2 separate regions of the Homo sapiens genome follow, and region 2 is linked to region 1. Evidence: promoter capture Hi-C in human tissues and cell types (Jung and others, 2019). All regions are on one chromosome and are shown on one strand. The core of a region is centred on a gene start or on the middle of the fragment in contact, and the rest is flanking DNA. Distances in the headings are between cores, read along the strand shown. Region 1 holds the start of PLXNA2 (plexin A2). Region 2 has its middle 23 kb from the start of LINC01698.

Region 1 (6,717 bases), core at 2,783-5,282:
AGCTGTTTGACCCTGGGAAGAACTGCCTTTCTCTCTGTCTCCATAGGGCTCACCTTTAGAAATGACCGAAAAAGAAGTGGATGCACACCCACCCCTCATTTACTCTAATCAGGCATGAAATCTTTGTAACGAAGTGAAAAAACTGTTCAGGGAACTGGTTCCATTCATCATTGTTTGAACTGAGCATATGTGAAGGGTAGAAATAGAATATTCACATATAATGAATTGATAACAGACTGCCCCTGGGTGGGGCGGTGGTGATTGGGGCTGAGGGGGGAACGCACACGAGCTGTAAAACTCCCAGCACCTCAAAGCCTGTTTCTACCAGTTTCCCTATGGACAGTCAGTCCTGAATTATTTCTAGTTAACAGACTGTAACACAATGCTCCAGTCTCTTTATGATCAGAATGGGGGTGGGGGGTGGGGGCTTGGCTAGGCGCTCCTTGCCTCTCCATTTGCCATGATGGACAGAAGTATATTGTGCCTCAGTTCGTGTGTGTGGAGACAGCTGTGTGGCAATGCAGGGAGACAGCTGGTGGTGGTGGGGAGGTGCTGCTGGAGACAGGAATTGCCTCCCCCACACCAAACCCTATATCTTAGGGAGGCAATCATAGAAAATGAGGTAGGATAGAAACTATAAAACCCCCAAACAGTGACAACTCCAGCACCATAAATATTTCATAGCACCTAAAGTGGTGAGTTTAGGCTGCTGTCAGCTGCTGCCTTGTATATTTAACCATGTCACTGGTTTCCCCTCCTGTTCCTATGTTTTCTTGTAACCTGCCCATGAAATAAAGATTAGCTGAGTAAGCAGAAGTATTGGTAAATGGGAAAGGGACCTAGGAAACAGGTAGCTGTTCTTTGAGGGCTTTCTTTTTAACCTCATTTTAAGTGCAGACTTCAGTAAAACAGATGGTGAAGGAACTTTTACATTCACCGCATCTGCAGCTTTTGATGGTCAAGAGAGTTGCAGGGTGAATGTTCCCTGGTGCTCTGAAGACAGGGATAGGTATTCAGACTAGCTCTGAAAGGGGGGCCACCAACCTTGTAATGACATGGTTTTGGGCGATGGACATAAGACACTGCCATACTCTTCATTTAGACTTGGGCTGAAAAGCTAGCCAGCCCCCCTGTCCTGCTCCAGGCTTTGAGGGACCCCTGTCCTTATGCCCTGCCAAAAAGAAGGACCAGCTGGGATTTCCTTGGCAGACTCATGGTCCCTGGATAGAGATCTCCTGGTACTTTACCACTGCTGCTCCTCAGCATCTTCCCTGCACATCGCTCCAAATGTCATTTCCATTTAACTGCTTTGCAAGCCAGTTTGCCCCCATCCTAATGCAATTTGCTGAGGACAGTGAGGGAGCAGAGAGGGTAATCTGCATTGCCCTCCCTTTATCAGCAGGTCCCTGAAGACGATCGGCTGCGGAGTGGAGGGAAATAGCTCCTTTAGGTAATGCTGGTTGGTGGCAGCAGGGGCAAGTTCTGGAATGAGGAGGGGTTGGTGGTGATGCCAGGTGGAAGAAGGGGAATGAAAAACAACCTCGCTATGACAGATTCCACTGTTTCCTTGGTTCCCTACCCTTTCTCTTCACTGCCCCTTCAGCCTCCAGGCCACCACCAAGGAGAGATCCCAGGTAATTAGTTCAAATGGTGCTCCGTGAAGAGAGAGGGAAGTTAATGAATTCTTCTCTTTTCTTGCCTGGAGGTCAGAGGGGAGAGGGCTGCAAGCAACTCTGGGAGCTTTCTGGGGTTATTGCATAAAAGTTGTGCATTTCAGTTAGGAATAGCTGAATTCCTCCAGCCAAGGTTATCTCTTCCTGGGGCTCTGTCAATCAGTAGAAGGCCCCAGAATCCAAAGCCAACCCAGAGGGAAGAGTGAAGTTTCAAGATCTGGGAAAGAAGCCCAGCAAAGGAGGGAGACTGCTATTGTGTGGGGAGAGGGGAGAGCTAAACCTGACTCCTGCTCTCAAAGCCTCCAGCCCAGGCCAGCCAAGATACTCATCTTGGCCTGCCGCTCATAAGCCTTGTCCACTGTGCGCGTGAATGGAAGGAAATGAATGTGCCCCCAAATTTCTGTGGGTTCTTCCAAACTGATGGGCCCCCAAGTGACTGCCTCAAGCTATGACTGGCAGTCCCAGTCCCCTCAAACTGATGCTGCCTTCATGTCCCTTGTGCACTTTCTACTGGTGTGCCACTGTCACTCTAAGATTCCTACAGGGGACCTGTTCAGATTTCCATTGCCCACTTCATGGGGCTCTCATTTCTAGACCCTTACTGACCTAGAGCCCCAAATCTTTTATCCAACTTCCTCCCCACCATTATTTCTATCCCTCCTGAGCAGAGCTGAGTTTGAGTAGGTAGCTCCCACTAGGGCAAGGGTCATTCCAAACAGGTGGACTTTTTTCGGGGATCTAAAATGGTAGTTTCTGGTGACTCTCTGGGCATCTAGACCATGATTGGCATTATAGAGACTACCTGTGGGATGGATAAAAAGGGCTAGAATTTTCTAGGATCCCTACCTCACTTGTGGGGTGGGGCAAGAAAGAGCACATGGAAGGAAACATTCTCAAATGGTTCATAAGGAGCCTCTGGGACCCTAAGCAAACTCCCATTTCAACCCCCAGCACTCCTGTGGTGCTCAAACTAAGGGGCTGGACCCCTGCTGGGCGATACACCGCAAAGGGAGCCCCGGGAGATGAAACACTTAGACCCATTCAGTGCCTAGGAATCTCTCCCTGAGCCTTATGGAACCCGCGCAAATGATGTTTTCCCATTCCCCTGATCTCCAGTCCCCGATCGGAAGGGAGAGCCGGCGGCCACCAGGGACCCCGGCACTGGAGTGAACGCCCCCAAATCGATCGCTGGCCAGTGTGGCTTTGGGCTGTCTCGCTGGTGCCACCGAGGCCCTCTTTGGGCTCCAGCTCTCAGGACAGCCTTGCCGCCCCGAGCTCCCCAAAGCCGCAGAGCGCCGGCAGGTGCGCGGTGGAGGCGCGCCGCGGAGCGCTGCTGCCGCCCTCAGCCCGCATTCGGGAAGCCGGCGGGCTGCCGGCCGGGAAGCCCTCGGCGGGAGGCAGCGGCTCCAGTGAGCCTGCGATCGCGCGCACGCCGCGCTCCAGCCCGCGAAAGTGGCCGAGCCCACGCGGGGACTCGCCCGCCGCGGCCAAGCCGGGTCTTCTGGGGCCGGGACCCCAAAGAGGCGGGCGCGGGAGAAGCCGCCACGGGTGTGCGCGCCTGTGGGGAGAGGGCGGAGGGCGCTGCCGACTCCGAGCGCCCGGCCCAGCCGCCGCTTACCCAGCTCGGCGACGTCGGTCTGTCCTTCCGTCCCCGCTCGGTCTACCTCGGCCGCCGCCGGCTGCTGAGGGCGGCGCGAGGCCCCTCTCCCTGCCCGCAGCTCGGAATCAGGGAGACGACCAAATCCACATGGAGTCCAAATTCATTAAAATCCACGTCAAGCCACCAGACACTTATCTGTATTCCTGAAGTCGCTCCTCGGTCTCCGCTCCGCGCGCCCCTCAGTCCTCCGTCGCCCCGCAGCAGCCCGGCTGGGCGCTGTCGCCGGCTCTCAGGGGGCACCCGGAGGCGCCGAGGGGGCGTGTGGGGGCGGCCGGCGGTGTCTCTCCTGAGGAAGAAGCAGAGCCCCGGCTGTCTTCAGATTTTTCCAGCGCGACTTTCCGGGCTCCTCTGACATCAGCAATCCCGGCGCTTCCTTCCCTTCTTGCTCTCCGGTTCGTTCACAGTCCCATTTCCTCCGGGAGCCTGGCTTTCCAGATCTATTTCGAGGTTTGCTCCGCTGGCTGCGGCGCTCGCACGCCCTACCGCTCCCAAGCTCTCGGGGTCTCTCTCCGGATCGCTCGCCCTCTCGGCTGAAAAATTCCCAGCAACTGCCCTCCGCCGCCCTCCCGCTCCAGTCTGGCGCGGATGCCGCTCCTCCCGGCAGCTCTGGCTCCCGCGGTGGCGGCGGCGGCGGCGGCGGCGGCGGCGGCGGAGGAGCCCTGAGCGCCGGCCTCCCTATTTCACCATGCAGCTCATTATCATAGAGGCCGCGCGCGTTAACCCCCTCCCCGCCGGCCGCGTCCGCCCGGGCTGGGGCCGCGCCCGCTGCTGGCACCGCCCGCCACCGCCAGCACCCTGCCCCCTCCCCCGCCCGCGCGGACTTCCTCCTCCGCAAGCTGTCAACAAAGGAGAAGCAGGTTTGGCATCCGGAGGCCGCTCGGCTGCCTGTCCTGCGCCCAGCTCAGCCCGGACCCATCGGCCACCTTAAGTAGCCAAGGGGGCAAGGAAAATGCTGCCAGGGCCCGGGAATTCGAGTCGGGCCTTGCGAGCCCAGCTGGCTTGGCCCCCGGGGGAATAGAAGGTCTAGCGTTGGGGTTAGGGGGGAGCTCAGAACACAGGAAGAGTGGGTGAGGGCAGTAGGGACAGGGAATCCCCCCCATTCGCATCACCTGTCACCGCACACATCCTGCACACCTCCCTCTTCATCTGTAATTTGAGTGAGGGGTGAGTGGGGAGGAACGGGGCTTGTCTGGTAGGGTTGAGACTAGAGTCTTGGAATTTGTGGGAGCAAATTTCCTCTTCTTGTAAATTAAAAAAAGAAAAAGGCCAACAAGCTGTCAAATAAGGCTTGAAGTTGTTGTTATTATTATTATTGCAATGAGAAGATGAACCTTGCTCTGAATTGAATCTCAAACTTCCAGCCCTGATAGGGATCCTGGGCATCTGGTAAGTCCCGACTTGCATGGGGGCATTGGGGACGGGAGAAGAGCTTTCTATATCCAATTCAGAGAATCTTTCTGGCAGGGTAATCAGAGGGGTGGCAATAAGATAACTTATTTTAATAACCTAAGGTGAGAGGTTTCGGGATTCTGGATGACAATGTCTCGGTGCCCTCAAGGCCACTGATTCCTCGCCACACAGTCTCAGTAACTCCGCAGCCTCTAGACACGGCTTTCCGGAAGCGGCCTGCAAGCTGGACCCCAGCGAGTTCGCAGGATCTGCGTAGTCCCTGCTCGCGATTAGAGCGCACACGAGTTTACTCCTGTCCAAGTATTCTGATAAGCTTCCTCTACTGCCCTCTCGTGGCCACAGTCCTCAGTGGTATAAATCTAAAAAACAACAAAAATCACTGCGAATACCTAAAAGCAATTGCACCAAATTCTTAGAGCAGTAGCGGCAGAAGAAACGAAGGGAGGGAAGGATGAAGAAAGGGAGCCGGAGAAAAGAGAGAGAGAGAGGAAGAAGAAAAGGAAATCTAGACTAACCAGTCATCTCGAACAATCGCACATTCAACACAGGACTGGGGGATCTAGGCTTTACTCCAACATCTGCAGAAATCAGCGAATTCTTCAAAAGTTCTTCATTGTAATTAGCTGAAATTTGTGTTCCTGTAACTTTCACTGGCTACTGCTAGTTTTGTCCTGTGGGACCACAAAGAATCTGTCTAAGCTGTGTTGCCTGATCCATACCTGTTCTTTCCTTCAAACTTCTTTAGCATTCATTGTTGGTAACACACCAATAAATTATCATATTTACCCTGTGTTATTATTTATTTATTTTTATAAGTAGATCTTGTCTCCCCATGCAGACAGACTAGTCGATCGTTTTATCTCTGGGTAGACTGAATCTAAACCACAATTTATTAAAAAAGATGATTTGAAGAAGATGCTAGAAGATTTTGGAACACTTCCTCCATTTGTTCATGGAGTTTGGCCAGCTACACCTAAGACCAGCCGTGGTAGGATTGGAGATATCTAATTGATAAAGCTCCAAGCTGAAAATTAGGGCCCTCTGGTTCTAAATCAAGTGGTGTCTGACTCTGGAAGAGGTCACCTCTCTTCCCTATGCCTCAATTTAATCACACCTTGGGAAGATTATGATACAATTGAAATAATTTTCTCATATGCCACCCTCCACTCCTGTGGTCCAGAAATAAATCTTAGAATGAAGAGCAAGGAAGCATAAAATGAAACAGACTCTTCCACTCACCCCATCTTTTATCCCCACACCTCCCCTCTCTTTCCTGAATAAAGGGAGAGAAAGAGGGAACACAGGCGGGAGGACACATTGTGGCTGACAGGGTGGCACGACGCCATCCAGATTCCACATTGCCACTGAACAGGGTCTAAGATCTGAGTCCTGTGAGACTATGGAAGAGCCTGTGGTCAGCATAGCAATGGAAAGAGCGCTAACTTGATCTACTGGGAGGTACAGTGGATGAAGTACCTCTAACTTCTCTAGGCCACAGTTTGTCCATCTGTAAGATGGGAATTTCTGTCTTCACTCTCCAGACAACTGGGGGAATTAAAATAGATATATGTAAGCGTGTTGGAAGAAGTAATAGTATCATCAAAATGGAAAGATTGTTGTTATATTTAGTCCTAATAGGCTAGAACAAATATGGATCTTATTAGCTAAACATCTAATTACCATAACATGCTCTGAGAATTTAAAAAAAAACCAAAACCTTGGGTTCATGGTTCGTATTTAGATTTGACATCCTCTGAGGCAACAGCGGTATACCTGAACCTCTAGTCTTTACATCTGCTCGTTAACCTTCTCCCTTTGATCTGGGTATTCATTCATTTATTACGCAAATATTTATGAAGAGCAAATTTACTAAATTTCTTCCTTTAATGGAACTATATACAGTCCATAATTACTGCTTTGGCACATATTTTTAAAGAAAGCATGGCAATAACCCTACAGATTCTATAACCTCAG
Region 2 (6,717 bases), core at 2,944-5,443, 1.1 Mb after region 1:
CACCACTCACTGCCAGAATTCTGCACCACAGAAGTCCAAGAGTTGGGCCTCAGAGGGATTCAGTAATATATCTCACAAGGTAGAAACCTTCCTAGAGAATGAGAGGTGGGAGAAGCTGAGCATGCCAAGACTGTGTTCTCTTAAGTGTTTGGGGTCTAGGGGGAAAGGGGAACTGTGACTCTCCCATCAACATTAGGTTGGTGCAAAAGTAATTACTTTTAATGGCAAAACCCACAACTACTTTTGCACCAACCTAATACTTTTTGTCTCTAATGCATAAAGATCAAGGCCGAGTTTAAAAAGGACTTTTAATCTTATGCCTCTCTCTATGGATTCTAAACCAGTTGAGAAATAGGCCCTGGAAGTATAAGGAAGTCCAAATATAAATTTATTTGTTGGTGAAACAAGATTGGAGAATCTTAGACTTGTGGTCAAAATAAAGCTCCTTACAGCTTTCTTTCATGCTCAATCCACAGGGCTCAGTTGGGGGGAGTGGGGGTTGAAGAGCTGACTGCCTCATGTCTTCCTGAGCTAAAGATCTCAAGGCCCAAGAGACAGAAGGACAACTAGACCCTCTTGCAGAAGGGCAGGGACAGAGGGCTGAGAAGGCCTGCAAGAGGTCAAACCATCCTTGTGCCCCTGCCTGTCATCCAGTCTCCCAGTCAGATAAATCGTCCTACTGCCATGGTCCAAGGCAAAGAGAAGAATGCGAAATCCCTTCCCAATACTTAAAAAGCTGTTTAAAAACCTCAATATTTGCTAAGTAAGATTATAAACATGGAAATAGGGAGAAAATACTCTGTAATTAATAAGCCATAGTTTTTGCCCACAAAAGCTCATTCTAGACATTGATCTTTCAAAAGATTACATTGCCTTTCTTCATTGAAAGAAACAGGCTAGGAAAGAATCAGAAAATAAAGGTTCTAATTCAGACTCTGCCACCATAGTTGGAGTTTCGTGTTGAGATTTGTTCCCCAAATTATCTCCCAGGCTCAGCAGCCCTGTCATCTCTACACCCAACCCCAAGGGCCAATCTGGGCCCAGTGCCCCGAGTTGTCACTTGTAAGGGAAAGAGAACACATCTTTCGTAAAAGTTTTATTCACTTAAAAAATTAGCCATGATCTGAAGGTCTACAGCAGTACAGTGGCTGAACAGCCTAGAGGGGCTATGAATTGTCCATAGAGCACTATCTACCTTTGTTCAAATCTTGACCCCATCACTCAACAGTCAAGTGACCTCTGGCAATTACTTAACCTCTCAATTTATTTCTCTGTAATATGGGGAATATTAACAGTACAAGCCTTACAACGTGGTTTTGGGAATCAAATGAGTTAATGTATGTCAAACACTTAGAACAATATCTGGCACATAGGAAGTGACATGAAATGTTTACCAGCATTATTATAGTTTAGTAAATTCAAGCACAGAAATAAATAGAAAATTGTAATGTCATCACCATCATTTTATGAACATTTCTAGCAACATGAAGATGCTTATGCTTCATAATTAAAAGTCAGAATTAAAATGTTAATGTGTCATTTTGAAACATGTTTAAAAAGTATAGAAAACATCTAAAATTGTAACAAAATGCTAATTGGTTATCTTGGATGGTCAGATGATGAAAAGCTTTAATTTTTCTTTATGTTTTCGTGCATGAATTTTCTATAATAGCATGTATTCACTGTAAAGAAGACAAAATGTTTATTTTAATATTTTAAATAATTTTGGTGTCCTGAGTGGATTTACCAGGCAAAACCATCTTCAACAAAATACCACTCTTCCAATCTGGGTATGTCACACATTATACAGACAATAAATCCTACTTTTGATGGAAGAAAAACATTCCTTTGCCAGCAATAAATTACTTTATTTCTATCCCCACCCTCTTACCCCACCCCACAAAAGTTATAAGTGCTGCTCTCTATGGTAGGTGTTTCTCCTGGGGCTGCATTCCATAGCTCTATGGTAGGTATCAAATTCTGCTATTCCTTTGAGGGTTTATCCATCCCAAAGACAGTTGCTGCTCGAAGCACGAAGCTTTGTGAACCCCACCTGCCCCCACCACCCAATACCACCGAGTCATATTTACCAAAGTATTAAGTATTTGATGACAGAGTGTGCTAAAGGCCAAAAATGACAGCTAAGTTCACACTTCTATTGCAGCTCCATTTTCCCCTGAAGGTAAAAACTATTTGGAATAATAACAAAACCTGAATAATTCTTGCCACAAGTTCAAGCCTCAGCCTCCAGATTTTTAACTCTCTGAGTTAAAAATTCCCGAGATAGGAGTTCCCACCTTGACCCTCATCTTTGAATTTTATTTCTAGTTTTGGGGAGCTGGAATTCTTCCCAGTGTTTATGTGATTAGCTTCTGTAAGCCAGAAGAGCTATCTGCTAAGGGGATCGCAGGACTCATTCTACTTGTTTCGGCATCCAACCCAAAGAAAAAGCAACTACCTGGACAAATGTTGTCATCCAAAGTTTAAATCAAGCTTGTCCAACTCATCTTATTTTGTTGTTGTTCTGTTTTGTTTTGTTTTGTTTTGTTTTGTTTTAGGCTCTTAGCAGCCTGAAGCCATGGCTTTTAGTTTCTGCCTCTAGTGATAAGTGGAAAAGAGGGATGAGGAAGGGGCTTTACTGGCCCAATCAGAAACAGAAACTAAGAATCCATTACTGTATTCTCTCCCTTGGATACCCCAAATCCATCATGAACTCACTCCCACCCTGGTTCAGAGCCCAGCATCAGAGAAGATTGACTGAGGTCCAGGCCACTCACACACAAGTTCTGCCTTGTCTTGCCTTTCTTGTTCCTTTTTATTCCATTGAGCTCATCAAAGCCCACAGAATAGTATAACTGGCAGAGTTTAGCCCTGCTCACCTTGCTCTACCCATCACACAACTAGATAGAAATAATAGTAGTCGTGACATAAACAAACACAAGAAGCATTCACTATGGCCAAGCACTATTCTAAGGTTTTAAAGATAGCAACTCATTTAATCTGCACCACAACCCCGTAAAGTAGATACCATTATTATCATCCCCATTTTATGGTTGAGGAATTGAGGTTCAGAGAGCTTACATAGCTTTCCCAAGTTCATGCGAAGCCAGGACTCATGCCGGCTCACATGAGGCAGGGACCCTTGGTCTGTTTAGTCACCATTCAGTGGTTTTTGACTTCTCCCCCTCAGAATATAAAGCTATTGCCTAGAATTCAAAAGCTAATAGCAGCAGCCAACACGCTTAGAACCTTCCTCCTAAGTCTGCTGGGCCAGACAGAAACTAAACAAAATACTGTAATCACAGAGGTGAAAAAAAAGAGTCCCTTTGACTTTATCTCAAAAACGTTTTCTGACCACCTGCCCTGTATGGCAGGTGTTGCAGGAAAGTCAGGGATGGATAAAAACAGGGCACTGTTTTCATGCAACTTAGAACAGAATAGGGGAAAATGGAAGAATGAAATATGTGTTGAGTATTAATACAAGTTGCAGGAAAGGCTTTTTATCTTTTTAAGGAGTAGGCACAGTACAATCATCAAACTGCAGTGAAGCAGAGACTCCTGGGCCTCCCACAGACATCCCTTTCACTCACCCCTGCCCTCAACATCAGACCCTCAGCTGAGGCTGTAATTATCAAGGGAAGGGGAAAGGAATGCATACTGGTTGATGATCTCATCGGTGCTTACAAGGATGCTAGCAGGAAGCCAGTATGAACCCCAGTTTACAGATATAGTTTCTGAGGCTCAGAGAGGTTCAATAATTTGCCTTAAAAACATAAAACTAGTATGCTGCAAATACAGGAATTGAAACCTGGTCTGGCCCCAGAGTGGATGCACCTCCTACTGCACCACACTCCCTCCCTCCACTAAATTGATTGCTGAGACTCATCTCCCAACAAAGCCTTTATCCATGGGTCCCGTTTGGTGAGTGATTGATGAGCATTTCTGAGCGATGCCAGCCCCTCCTCTAGGCCTGGCCTGGCTGCTTTGCCATTCCAGAACAAACCCACGTTTGATCTACGAGGCTACTTTCTTGCCATGAAAGGATGTGTCTCCCAAGTGACCTCTTCCTTGGTAGTTGGAGAGAAAGTGTGATAAAAAGCAAAAGCCGTGTCCTTTGAAGATAATTCATACATTGGCCAGTAGATAAGATAAAGTAGCTGGAAATCCAGCACAAGCTACAAACAACTCCACATTAAAGGCATCTGTGTTTAATAAAACTGATAAATCAAATGCTGTTAGGTGGCGTCTCCTGGCTATGTTTTAGGCCCATAATTGGTGCATGCGGATGATACAAGAATACAAGGCACTGAGCCAGCAGAGAGACTGCTAACCTCTGACGAGCCCCTCAAGTACTTCCAGGATTCTCTCCATGATTTGTTTGGAGAAGTTTGTCCAAATAGAGTCCCTTTCCTAGAAAAGTGCCAGGCTATCAATTTACATACTTAAATGGGGAGTGCGTCCTCTCTCTGGGTATCTTCAAGGACAACAAAAACACCAGAGAGGAAGGTAAAGGAAAGGTAGGAATGGGGAAAAAATGTAAGTACAGCATATTGATTTATTGTGCATTTCATATGTGCACTTTACATGCATTTTCTAATTTTCTCGTCATAATCCTGTAAGAGAGGTGGCATCATCCTCCTGTTGCAGGTGACAAAATATATGCCAGTTAAATGACTTGTCCAGTAGCAGAACTGATTGACTCCAAAGCAGGAGGAGAAAAAGCTAGAGCAGCTTGAAGTAGTCACTGTTGAGAAGATAGGACTAGGAAAACAGCTCCTCTAAACTTTAGGCTGGTCTAAGATTATTATTTAAAGATTGGAAACCTATTCGCATTAGGTAAGAGAACAAAAGTTATGGGTTTAGGTACAGAAGGAGAAATTGATATTAGGTATCTCTGAGGGCCAGGGGACCTAATAGGAAGTGGTGGAAATTTTTTGCCTGGAAAGAGCCTACATCCACCAGATAGTCTGGTGCAGTCATGTTGTAGAAAGGACATTAGATAAGGTCCATGCCCAGGCACTGGCTCTTACAAGCAGCCTGACTTTCAGCATGCTGCAACCTCTCTGACCTTCAATTTGCTTTGTAAAATGGAGACAGTAATAACTAATTTGAAGTATTTGTGGAAAGCAATAAATGAAATGATGTATGTAAAATGCTTGGTAAACACTAAAGTGCTATCAAGCATGGGGACTGTTATTATTCCACCTTTCTGGAATTTTTATACAAAATACAGCACAGAAACAGAGGAATGGACTAAATGACTTACTGTGGCTCCTTTTTTGACAACAGAAGTAGATTTTTGACAAGAAGTAGAGCTTGGGAGTGAAGTCAAGCTCTCTTTAGGGATGATCAGCTTTATAGTTTTCAGAAAAACCTCAGCCCAAAATAAAGATTCCTTATGACTCCCCCTCCCCAGCAAAAGGTTTCAGTGGCATAGTCAGCCCCATCTCTACCAGAGTTAAAGTGCCGTGGATCAGGTCAAGGTCAGCTGCCTCCTGCCAGGAAGAAAGACAATTAGGATGAGGAGTGAGTGTTATACCAAAGGGGGTTCATGATTTGGGGCTAAAAGAAATTGACCTTTTGCTTCAGAGGCTATTTAACTCCAAGAGATTCCAAGCTTTGCTTCCCTTCCAGGGGCCAACTTAAAAAAAAAAAAAAAAACAAAAACAAAACTGTGGCCTTAATTATCATAACAGAATGATTAGTCAGGGACAGATGGCTTAAGGTCTATTCCCCATTCTCCCTATAGCTTACACGATACACACTAAATTCATCTTTTAATCAATGTTGTAAATAGCTATCTCCTTTCATTAAATGAGAGATAGTATCAATCTTTAATGATCAGTAATATATAATGTCAGTTTCGTTCCTGTCTGATGTCTATGGGAAGAACTGTGCAAGCTGGTAGAAAGGGATAGGCTCAAAAATGTTAAAAAGCATATAGACATACAAGAATATATAAGTAGAAATTCATATAGATACACTTAGCATATGAATTAAATGATAAAGCAGTCTGAGATCATATCTGCAGTTTAATAGTGAGAAGCTCCAGCTACTTCATAACTACAGCCTTATTCTCTCAAAGCTCACATTGAAAGGCCTTCTGATTTTTAATAGGATAATAGCACTTTGGCCCTTTTGAAAGATGTGGGGTACAATTTTGATAAACTTTCCCACACCAGTCACCAAAAATCCTTCATAAGACTAACGAAATCACCAAAAGTAACTGCATTTATCGAGGAAGAACCTCGCAGGTTAAAGGCTAAGTCAGCATCAGCCTGGTACAGGAAAGTTGTTCTTGAATGGGAGACTTTAGCTCAGGCCACAGAGGCACTACCGGACGGTTTTCTTCTTACACAGCTGCTGAGCTTTTTGGAGAACCTTTGAAGTCGGCAGTGGTGGACTAACTCAGCCATCCCCTTTCACACTGCAGTCATTGTTGAGGGCCTACTGATGCAGAGACTATGTTCAGTATGTAATGGCAAATACCACTTTACCCCCGACTTTCCCTCAAGGAGCTTACTGTCAAGATGAGAAGACAGGGCAATGCTTCAAGTCACAAGTGGTGACCCTAGTTTGCCTGACCTTCATCAATAGATAGGTGGGATGACACAGAGTCACTTGGACCTAAGGATGTCCTGAAAAGGCCCAGTGAGAATTCATCAAGCCTCCGGTGTGTACTCATTTTTTGTTAGTGTTGGGCAAATGGACTGTTTG

What was found. The method cuts DNA at HindIII sites, captures the fragments that hold promoters and counts their contacts. A contact is called where the count stands out against the background at its distance.
Region 2: a fragment that was not itself captured here is called in contact with the fragment with the promoter of PLXNA2 in region 1 in 2 of the 25 tissues and cell types used here (bladder and heart left ventricle).

The regions. Positions count from the first base shown.
Region 1 is chr1:208,240,352-208,247,068 of GRCh38, forward strand. It overlaps PLXNA2 (plexin A2), which reads right to left and starts at 4,033. Exons shown (of 32, transcript NM_025179.4): 1 at 3,292-4,033. RefSeq lists enhancers at 2,571-3,072, 3,073-3,572 and a silencer at 4,091-4,150. The HindIII fragment of the contact is 14,189 bases long and covers 1-6,717 here.
Region 2 is chr1:209,345,929-209,352,645 of GRCh38, forward strand. No RefSeq gene overlaps it. Among named protein-coding and RNA genes, the nearest start is that of LINC01698, 23 kb to the right of the region's middle. The HindIII fragment of the contact is 4,722 bases long and covers 1,833-6,554 here.